Regions from separate parts of the Homo sapiens genome. Here all the other regions are linked to region 1. The links are contacts of gene promoters, found by promoter capture Hi-C in blood cells and fetal thymus (Javierre and others, 2016). All regions are on one chromosome and are shown on one strand. The core of a region is centred on a gene start or on the middle of the fragment in contact, and the rest is flanking DNA. Distances in the headings are between cores, read along the strand shown.

Region 1 (3,670 bases), core at 716-3,215:
CTCCCATATCTGTCCCCGTCCCCATCTCTGTCCCCAAAATTCTAAGATTTGCGGACTGCTGAAACTAAATTCTCTTTTATTTGTCGAACAAAATCCTGAAATGGTTAATGGGGCAGCATCCATCAGTTTTCAAAGTGTGGAAAACCTTCCAGCCATCAGACATGCTTGTCAAATACTTAACCTACTGACCCAGGGATAGAACTATTGACAACTACCTGGAAATCTGACAAGAAAAAGGAGAGTGAGGACGCTTCTTCACAAACTTCTTTAATTTATTTTTCCTTTTTTAAGGAAAACCAAGGCAGGTGAAACCAAGAACTGCTAAATCAGTTTTCTCTATCTTTCGTCTCACAACAGCTTCCCTAAGTCCGTCGCCGAAAAGGTGATTCAATTACTCCCCTTTATGTGCACCAGCGTCAGATCAGGTTACTTTTGAAAATGTTTTGTTTGGGCCCAAGTTTAGAGAGAGGATTTGAGATATTTATCTGGGAAGCCTAGGAACTGAAGGCGAGCATTCTGTTAGTCCTTGACTGGACTGGATTATATGAATACATATATATGCGTGTAGAAAGATAGGTAGATGGGTAGGTGGGTAGATAGATAGATAGATGATAGATAGATAGATAGATAGATAGATAGATAGATAGATAGAATTTTGGGGGGATGTTAGTATGGATTTGTAATATGGTTAGACCTCGGTCTTAAAACGGACCCTCGTTATGGCTGAGCTTCTGTGCTGTTATTAGCAAGAATTTCTAAATTACCAGGTCCTTATTAAAATCGCAGCTGAACCTTCTAAAATCACCTTCTAGGTCAGATACATAGATTAATAAACCAGGGTTGATGCAGTTTGGACATTTTGTATGAAGCTTGGTAGCTCAGTCAGTATGGCCATGGACTTTTAATCTGAGGAACCAGGTTTCAAGTCCCTGTTCAGGTGTCGCTGTATTTCTCCTTTTTTATTTCCATTTCTTCATTTTTAACCCAATACGTACAGTATTCTTTCCTTATCAGCAGGAGATATGTTCCAAGACACACAGTGAATGCCTGAAACCTCGGATAGTACCATAGTATACTATGTTTTTTCGATCTGATAACCAGGATGAATACTAAGTGACTAAGATGTGGGGAGCGCATACCGCGTGGATAGTCTGGACAAAGGGATGATCCTCGGGCGGGTGGGAGATTTCATGACGCTACTGAGAAAGGGGAGTTATTTGAAACTTATGAATTTTTTATTTCTGGAATTTTCATTTAATATTTTTGGACCACGGTTGAAGGGGGTAACTGAGACAGCGGAAGGGAAACTATGGACAAGGCGGGAGAGGTTACTGCAGTTAGAGAGAGGAAGGTTAAGGTCAAGTCACGGGCTGATATCCCCGAATAAATGAAGGACTCTTGAGCTGACCATAGGTCTCATAACCTAGGAGCTGTTTAGAAAATAGATGGGCCTTTTGGAAAGGGAGCCACAGCGCACAAAGCTTTTCATCTGCAATAGGAGTAAAAGTTGCAATAACAATGGCTACAAGTTGTTAAAGGTTAAACTCTTTCTTGAAAAGCAACAAAAATGCACAGGCTCCCTCTTTTCTCTATTAGCGTGCTCCTTTCTGATCCCCTGCTTTCCTGATCCATGGGGTTGCCCAGGTAAACAGACGTGGTTCTTCACCCAGAACTTGGGCCTAGTGGCAGTAGCTTTCATTTTTTTGGTGGTGACCTACAATTTAGTTTAGTTTACATCGTAATTCAGTCATACATATGTAACAGAAACAAAAGTTGCATGAACTATTCCTTACTCTTAACACACACACTGCATTCTGATTATTTCTGATTCTAGTCTATTCTAACTGAAATTTAACATATCTTTCACTTACTAATACAGGTAACAAACCACAATTGAAAGAGAAGTAACTACGACTCTGTCATCAAGAAAAATCACATATTTTTGGCCGGGGGTGGTGGCTCATGCCTGTAATTCCAGCACTTTGGGAGGCCGAGGCGGGCGGATCACCAGGTCAGGAGATCAAGACCATCCTGGCTAATACGGTGAAACCCCGTCTCTACTAAAAATACAAAAACAAAATTGGTGGCGGGCACCTGTAGTCCCAGCTACTCGGGAGGCTGAGGCAGGAGAATGGCGTGAACCCGGGAGGCGGAGCTTGCAGTGAGCAGAGACCACGCCACTGCACTCCAGCCTAGGCGACAGAGGGAGACTCTGTCTAAAAAAAAAGAAAAGAAAAATCACATATTTTTGTATCACAATACAGTTGTTACAAATACCCAAGACAACTGTTTGAAAATTACAGCAGTCATAAGACGGGTCTTGATGTTTAATATTTAATGCATTAATGAGAAGCACACATTACTCTATGAAATTATTTTAATCGTTTGAAAACTGTTTTGTAGTACAATTGGCTTTCTTTAAAATCCTGTGTATTTTTTAAAAGCTTTTAAAAATACAATTTTGAAAAGGGCTCCATGGGCTTCATGCTGGGGCCAGAGGGCTCCCTGGGAGCTAAAAGATGAAGAAGCCGCGGAAATTCGCCATCTGGGAGGAGACCACCGTCGGGTGCCCGCCATCCCCTTCCGCCGGAACTCCACTAAAGAGGACTAGGTGTTAGCGCTGGCGCGGGAGGCCGGAGCAAGGTCTTTAAAGGTCTAAGGTGAAATTCCGGGTGGGAGCTCAGTCAAGCCTCCCCTACCCAACTGGGAATCAGTGCGCCAACCGGAGCACGCCCCCCAGGCGACACCGAGAGGCGCGGAACTCCCAAGCCTAGAGGGCGTCGGAAGTGCATCCCAGAGCGGAGCAGCCAGAGGGGCGGGGCGTCGCGGCGCTGGGGCCGCGCCCTCGGGTATCCAGAGTACGGCTCTTCCAGGCCATGTTGATGACCCAGGGTGGAAGCCATTGGAGAGTTTTGAGAGAAGAAGGAGGTATTTTTTTTTTTTTTTTTTGAGACGGAGTTCTCACTCTATCTCCCAGGCTGGAGTGCAGTGGCACGATCACGGCTCACCGCAACCGAGGGAGGTACATTTTAGCGGGATTTCTGTGAGAGGCATTCGAACCAGAGCGACTCCATTTTGAGTGAGGGCTAGGAAAACGAGGCCGGGACTTTTGCTGGGCTGCATTCCCAGAAAGTCAGGCATTCCTAGCCTCTAGATGTTTATGGTTAAGGGAACAAATTAATAATGTTTACTAAACAGACCCAGACTTGGGAGTGTCTAGATGTCCCCATATCTGGAGAACAAAGGCATTCCAAATTTTGCTTTAAAGATAATAATATCGATTCTTACAAAATATAATAAGAAAATTAATCCTTTATCACAGACCCTTGTAGCAGAGCACATCTCCCCATACTTACAGGTATGTATCTAGGGTGGACACTTTCCTCCGCGTTTCAGGAACACCCTACTCTGTCTATGGAGTAGCTGTACTTTCACTACTTAACTTTCTTAATAAACCTGCTTTTACTTTGCACTGCGGACTCGCCCTGAATTCTTTCTTGCGGGAGAGCCAAGAACCCTCCCTTGGGGTCTGGATCGGGACCCTTTTTCTGTAACACAACAACTATTGAGAAAAGAAGGTAGTGGTGCAAGAACAGATACAGAAAAATAAGTTTCCCTCCCTCTTCTTTCCAACTCTTCCATGCTCAGTGCCTCAGATGTGAGGGTCAGA
Region 2 (3,670 bases), core at 666-3,165, 1.3 Mb before region 1:
GCCCAAGAACCACATTTTGGGGAATCATTCTGCACCCCAACAGTACCGTCACTATCCTATTCTAACTTTGTAGATGAGCAAAGATTTAAAAAGAATAAACAAGTCACCTCGTGTCTGATCGGTAACAAGTCAGCTCGAGTCTGAAAGGTAAACATTTAATCTAAAACCAAAGTTTTCTATTTCCAGAGTTTCAACTCTTAACTACTTTCTAAACAAAGAATTGAATACTAAGAGATTATATTAGAATAGTTATAGGAGTTTTATAATTTTCATTGATGTTAAAATAATTTCAGAGTGGCCGAGCGCAGTGGCTCAAGCCTGTAATCCCAGCACATTGGGAGGCCGAGGCATATGGATCACGAGGTCGGGAGTTGGAGACTAGCCTGGCCAACATGGTGAAACCCCGTCTCTACTAAAGATACAAAAAAATTAGCCGGGCGTGGTGGTGAGTGCCTGTAATCCCAGCTACTCAGGGGAGGCTGAGGTGGGAGAATCGCTTGAACCCGGGAGGTGGAGGTTGCAGTGAGCCAAGATTGGGCCATTGCACTCCAGCCTGAGCGAAAGGGCGAGACTCCGTCTCCACAAAAAAAAAAAAAAAAAAAAAAATTCAGAGTATAACCCTGTATTTATTAATAAGAAAGAAAATCAAATATACGGAATCAAAGTTGCTCCATAATGGTTGATAACAAATCTTTAGTTGGGTCATATAAAAGTGTCTTTTTAAAAACCTACAAGCGTCCAAGCGAAGCGGCTCACGCCTGTAATCCCAGCACTTTGGGAGGCTGAGGCGGGCGGATCACGATGTCAAGAGATCAAGAGCATCCTGTCCAACATGGTGAAACTTGTTCTTTACTAAAAATACAAAAAATTAGCTGGGCGTGGTGGCGCATGCCTGTAGTCCGCGCTAATCCGGAGGTTGAGGCATGAGAATCGCTTGAACCCGGGAGGTGGAGGTTGCAGTGAGCCGAGATTGCACCACTGCCCTCCGGCCTGACGACAGAGCGAGACTCCTTCCAAAAAAAAAAAAAAACCCCACACACAAAACCTACAAACACCAATTTTCTAGTTATAAGAGCTTGTTTTAAGGATTTTAATTCTATTCCAATTAAGTCCTAAAGCTAATGCAATTATCAAAATCTCGAAGAGATTTTATTCAAACTTCACAAAAGGTCTCTAAAGTTGTCCAGAAACCTTGGTGAAACAGATTAGGAAATTTGGAAAGGAAATAATGCGGAGACCCGTAGTACCAAATCATGAGACCTCTAATACAATTTTAAATATTAATGTAATAAAATTTAAATTTTGGTGTAATAAAATCATAAATTTCAATATTGGTCCCAAGTATAGAGAAAAAGTACATTTATGTTGAATGTGGAAAACATTATTTTTAAAATACAGCCGATTAAAAAATTGCTGGGGAACTGATTATAACTATTGATAATTCCTAAGAAACATAGACACCAAAACATCACTTTTATCTCTTTAATAGAAATTGGTTAAATTATAATCAATATAAGGAGGTTACAAAACTCCATATACAACACTGTATACATTTTCTTGGAAAAATATGTGCAACTGCTCTGCAAAATACATGATTAACTAGCCTGTGTGATGGGATAACATTGTAGTTTCTTAATTTCTTGTCCTTTCTTGTATTTCCCACAGTATTGATGTATATCTTCTGCGTTCAAAAGCAATTTTTTAAAGCCTCATAACGTGGTAACAAAATACTATGCACGTTACAAAATTCAGAACACGGAAACAAGAAGCTCGCTTTTTTTTTCCCCCTATTTCGGTTTGGCCCTTTAGATTTCCCCTCCCCCACCGGGGCGGGACTTCCCGCCGACTTCTTTCAGGTTCTCAGTTCGGTCCGCCAACTGTCGTATAAAGGCGCTGCCTCAGGCCAGAGTCCTCACAAAGCGTTGGGTGAGACTCCTCTTGCTCGTCATGTCTGGCCGCGGCAAAGGCGGGAAGGGTCTTGGCAAAGGCGGCGCTAAGCGCCACCGTAAAGTACTGCGCGACAATATCCAGGGCATCACCAAGCCGGCCATCCGGCGCCTTGCTCGCCGCGGCGGCGTGAAGCGCATCTCCGGCCTCATCTACGAGGAGACTCGCGGGGTGCTGAAGGTGTTCCTGGAGAACGTGATCCGGGACGCCGTGACCTATACAGAGCACGCCAAGCGCAAGACGGTCACCGCCATGGATGTGGTCTACGCGCTCAAGCGCCAGGGCCGCACCCTCTACGGTTTCGGTGGTTGAGCGTCCCTTTCTATCAACAAAAGGCCCTTTTTAGGGCCCCCACTTTCTCAGCTGAGGAGCCGTGATGCTTGTTTGCCCAGTTTCTCTTTACCATTTGTTCGCGCCTGCTGAGTTTGTGCTGCTATCGGAGCATGCGTCTCTAGTCGCTGTAAGTAGGCATCAGTCACTAATCGCTCTCCAGTAAATAAAATACCCAACACAACTTGTTTCAGGTGCTCCAGAGCTTACTGACATGGGCCGTCGCGCAGACTGTAGTGCAGTGTCATCATGGCTCACTGTAGCCTCCCGATTAGCCGGAACCTCGCGCCCACCACCACGCAAGGCTAATTATTTTTCCAAAGACCGGGTCTCCGTGTGTTTCCCAGGCTAGTTTCGATATCCTGGCCTCAATCCCCTCGCCTATGCCTAATGTTGGTATTACAGTAGTGAGCCACCACGCCTGGCCACGATACTGTTGAGGTTTTAGGGTTAGTTACATTTAAGGGGCAATTTTCGCAGTGTAGTGGGGAGGAAAGTCAAGCAGTTATAGGTTTCTGGCGCTGTGAATCCAACTGCTGAACATAGCAAGAACTTATTATGCAACAACCTTTAATCAGTGGACCGTAAATAAGTTTAGTTTATCGGTTTTGGCCCAATTCTTGAGAAAGGTGAGAATTTGAATCCTTGAGTAGAAATACGTAGCTTATCAGTACAACAAAGTGATCACAACAAAGACTAACTTATCCTTTGTTACTTAACGTGGGCAGAGCTTTACCGCTGAGAATTCCTCAGCCTTTGAGTGTTCTCTTATTTACAACTGAAGTTGATAAGATGGTATTAAAAGTGAGATTCCTAGTAAGTAAACTTAAAGGCCTGAAGGACCAGTGATTAATGGGAAGTGCTAATAAGTCATATTTGAGGTTATCCAACCCGAGATTCTGATTTAATTGGTTTAAGGATACTATCACCTTGTGGGTTAGATTTGAAAAATAATAATTGCTTTAAGGAAGGAACCTGTTGGTATTTAAACAAAAAACTTTCCTTCCTGATTCTTACATGCCGTCACTTAGACAAATCTCTGGTCTACATGGCTGGATCTCTTTCTGCTAGTTAAATTCTGTGCTACCCTGTGAAAAAGAACTGAGATTAATAAAACGGTAGTGAGAACACAGGGAAAGATAAAAATCATAGCAAGCCCATCCAGTCATGCTGTAGTCATCCTCACAAGGATAGGGAAGGATCTTGTCCTTCATTTATCACCCAAAGTGTGAGTACAAACTTTAAAAACATATGATACTATAGGAATAATGAAGATGTCTCCATTTGCAAAAATTGTGTGAAAAAATGCACTTGACACAGGTATTTCCTATGATTTCATAATAGACAAAGGTTTAATTACACAACTCCTGGCTGAATCTAGAGTACTAAAATG
Region 3 (3,670 bases), core at 812-3,311, 1.3 Mb before region 1:
TATCTTCCTTTCCAGAAGAAAGCTAATTTCTGAGAGGGGAAAAACTCTATTTTGTTTTGCTTACGGTGTTGATTCCAATTAAAAGTATTAAAGCATTATTTTAATTTGTAAAATATTAATCATAAATTATTTATCTTTCTAAATTCCATATATGTGGAAATAATGAAATCATGAACCCACACACAAGAAAATGAGGATGAGCAGATTGTGAATGTTGCAGTAGTGATCTTGATATCAAATTTCCAAAAAAGTGTATTAAGAATGTAACCAATTCTAATAACTGAAGATACATAAATAGCCAACTGAAACAAGATAGAGAATTAAAACTGCTTTTTAAAACTCAGTGTAAAAATACTATGATCTTTCCACTTACATCCTTCACAGGTTAAGCTAAGGAGAGACAGAGATGATAACACACATACACAAGCCAATTTGCCAGGGAAAATCTTGAATACTTATAAGAATGCTAGAGAGCTCACAGAAGAAGTTATAGAAATCTAGCATTCTGAATACAAGAATGGATGAGGTAAGGGCTTTCCTGGCCCACAAGAAGCTGATTTGAGCATATCTACCAAGCTGATGTATTTCTTTCATTTGAGATTTTCCATGTGGGTATGTCTCCTTACTATTATATACCCATGCATTCATTCATTTATCCAACAAATACTGATCAAAAGCTCCTACGTTACTGGAGATATGCGAGTAAACAAAAGTTCCTCCTCTCATGAGCCTGTATTTTAGAACACACAAGCAATACATCAGCAAACTCTGGTACAGCATATAGTGACAAATTCTAGGGTGAAAAAAATAGGTGGGGATTATACAGATTTTATTTAGTCATACAAAGCCTCATTGAGAAAGTAACATTTAAGCAAAGACTCAAGTATTTTATCCTGTGCTCAAAAAAACTACCACAGGCTTACCTACAAGGCAGTCTTATTTTGAATACTCCTGACAGTTCAGAGTTTTAGCCACTGTCAGCAGAAGTCAGAGAAAACACTTTCTCTCCCACACGTATTTTTACATGGGGCTTCAAAGGGAATGTTCTCTGGCGGGCTTTCTCCAGAAGACTTTTAAACCTCAAACCATCTGTCATTAACTACATTTAAGTGGTTTAAGCAGGCCCAAAATCCGGCTTGAAAAAATTCAAAGAAAACTTAACACTGCTTAGGAACGGGGGGCGGGGAGAGAACGTTTCACTTTAGCCAGCATGAGCTACATTAACCTGAATTTTTCCAACTTCAGTACAACCTTAGTTTTATTTCTGGCGTGTTGGCAAGAAATATACACACACCACAGTACAGGTTAGCAGAAAATTAGAAGCACCATCCGGTCAAAACCGGGCTGCGGAGATGGGAGAGCAATACACGAAGGAACTTTTGGCTACACTCAATGCTTACGGAAAAATGCCGGACATTATTAGATGTTAAGACTCCCAAAATTAGCATTCAAAAAGGGATAGGCTGAGTCTTACGAAACAGATTGTATAACGTCTGGAAATGGGCCCTATCTACTACAGGCAAAACAAGTACCAGGAAGAATTCCTGAGAGAAACAGATCTTTTCAGCGCGCATGTGGGTGGCTCTGAAAAGAGCCTTTGGGTATGTAATCAGTGAGTCCTTGAGACTCAAGCCCTCTCGCCGCGGATACGACGTGCGAGCTGGATGTCCTTGGGCATGATAGTCACCCGCTTGGCGTGGATGGCGCACAGGTTGGTGTCCTCAAAGAGCCCCACCAGGTAGGCCTCGCATGCCTCTTGCAGCGCCATCACCGCGGAGCTCTGGAAGCGCAAGTCGGTCTTGAAGTCCTGCGCGATCTCACGCACCAGACGCTGAAAAGGCAGCTTTCTGATCAGCAGCTCGGTGGACTTCTGGTAGCGGCGAATCTCGCGGAGAGCCACTGTACCAGGCCGATAGCGATGGGGCTTCTTGACACCGCCGGTGGCCGGAGCGCTCTTCCGAGCCGCCTTGGTGGCCAGCTGCTTGCGCGGAGCCTTGCCGCCGGTGGACTTGCGAGCAGTCTGCTTCGTACGCGCCATGCCTTCAGAGCTAGATTCACTTCAGGAGAAAGAGAAAGCTAGCCGCTTATTTATAGTGAGAGTCTGAAGCTGATTGGACAAAAGTATGCTGAAGGCCTACCCAACAGTAACCGGATTGGCGAAGGACTCAAATTTTTGTTGTTCACCTATTCCTCTGACAGACTTAGCAGTTCATGGTCTCCATATTTTATTTTCTATTTTCGCTATACAGTTGTTCACTATACTAGCGATTTCCAGTGGAAATGAGAGCAATATAAGTAATTTACACTTATCTAGGAGAACATTGTAACAAAACAAGGAAAAATTAATTTTTAATATTTTGCTTAATCCAATATAGCCAACATATTTCAATGTTATCGAAATTAAAATTGTTAGGTATTTTACACTTTTTGGCACTGACTTTTCCAAATGCAATGTGTATTTTATATAAAATTCATGCTATGGAATTTCCAATGATCACTATCCACAATTGGCTAGTGGCTGCAATACTGGACAGGACAGCCTTATACACCTGTCCCCTCAATTTTCTATCTTTTGACCACTTAAATTTAAAAAACTTCTATTTTTATAACCAAGAAAAGCTGGTTCGCATGTGAGAAATTCAAGGCCAAAAAATGTCAAAGAAACAACTTTATGTGAACTTTTCACTTTTAGATTAAAGTAATTCCATTGCAGCTTATTTTTCCAATACTCTAGAAATGTAATTCATTTTCTTTTAAGAATCTATTCCATTCGTACATCCAGATCTGATTCAGATTAAAAACATCAAGTCAGATATTTTAAAAGTGGAATTTACCATGCTGAAACAAATTAAGTCATCTCTGTACTAAGAAATCAATTTGTGTGGCTGGGGGTGGGAAAGCTCGGGAAATTTTAATTTCAATGAATTTTCAGAAAATGCTTCAAAGAGAACTACCTGGCACCATAAGTAACTGTTCTAATTAGTCTAATAATTATTCTCAACTCAATCATTAATGTTCAAATGCAATTAATTATACAGATTCGAGAGATATTTCTCAGAAATGAAGAATCCAAGTCGTTGATCTAGATTTGGATTGAACGTCGAATGCCCGGTTTGTTATTTACCAAGACCCAGAAAACATCTGGCCCCAAAGCAGACATGTTTGCTTCAACAGACTAAAAGTAAAACCCGACGGTGAACCATACAGAATTCAACATACTTGGATAATGCCAGCTTAGGAAAAACTAAATTTTCTTCCACTAAGCTTAAGATGAAGGCGTGTTTAATACTTTTAATGTTATCCAGGCTTTTTATAAAGCTAACGAGATTGTCACTACCTAACCAAGACACCGAAGACTGATCTACGTAACCTTTGGAGTGGTTTAGAAGTAGGCAAAGACGAGAAATTACATTAAACATAGTGCTCAGTTCTTCCACAAAATTGTAGGTGGCTCTGAAAAGAGCCTTTGGTTCCTTTGGGATTGAGTTGCTGCAAACTAATCCAGGCTTCTACTTGCCCTTCGCCTTGTGGTGGCTCTCGGTCTTCTTGGGCAGTAGCACGGCCTGGATGTTGGGCAGGACGCCACCCTGTGCGATGGTGACTTTGCCCAGAAGCTTGTTGAGCTCCTCATCGTTGCGGATGGCCAGCTGGAGGTGACGCGGGATGATGC

The links. The method cuts DNA at HindIII sites, captures the fragments that hold promoters and counts their contacts. A CHiCAGO score of 5 or more calls a contact.
Region 2: the fragment with the promoter of H4C12 here is called in contact with a fragment that was not itself captured in region 1 in 1 of 17 cell types (M0 macrophages); the score reaches 7.5 in M0 macrophages.
Region 3: a contact is called between the fragment with the promoter of H3C10 here and a fragment that was not itself captured in region 1, in 3 of 17 cell types (fetal thymus, total CD8 T cells and M0 macrophages). The highest score is 6.9, in fetal thymus.

What each region holds. Positions count from the first base shown.
Region 1 is chr6:26,549,748-26,553,417 of GRCh38, reverse strand. No RefSeq gene overlaps it. Among named protein-coding and RNA genes, the nearest start is that of TRA-CGC1-1, 1.9 kb to the left of the region's middle. RefSeq lists a cis regulatory region at 1-232 and enhancers at 2,500-2,549, 2,534-3,068, 3,328-3,670. The HindIII fragment of the contact is 963 bases long and covers 1,484-2,446 here.
Region 2 is chr6:27,829,805-27,833,474 of GRCh38, reverse strand. H4C12 (H4 clustered histone 12) reads left to right here and starts at 1,915. Exons shown (of 1, transcript NM_003541.3): 1 at 1,915-2,301. The coding sequence starts at 1,948. The coding sequence ends at 2,259. RefSeq lists enhancers at 1,606-2,431, 2,355-2,464. The HindIII fragment of the contact is 8,845 bases long and covers 1-3,670 here.
Region 3 is chr6:27,808,442-27,812,111 of GRCh38, reverse strand. H3C10 (H3 clustered histone 10) reads right to left here and starts at 2,061. Exons shown (of 1, transcript NM_003536.3): 1 at 1,576-2,061. The coding sequence starts at 2,038. The coding sequence ends at 1,628. H2AC13 (H2A clustered histone 13) reads right to left here. Exons shown (of 1, transcript NM_003509.3): 1 at 3,445-3,670. The coding sequence ends at 3,510. RefSeq lists enhancers at 1,052-1,723, 1,818-2,107, 1,724-2,395, 3,079-3,670, 3,596-3,670. The HindIII fragment of the contact is 5,605 bases long and covers 1-3,266 here.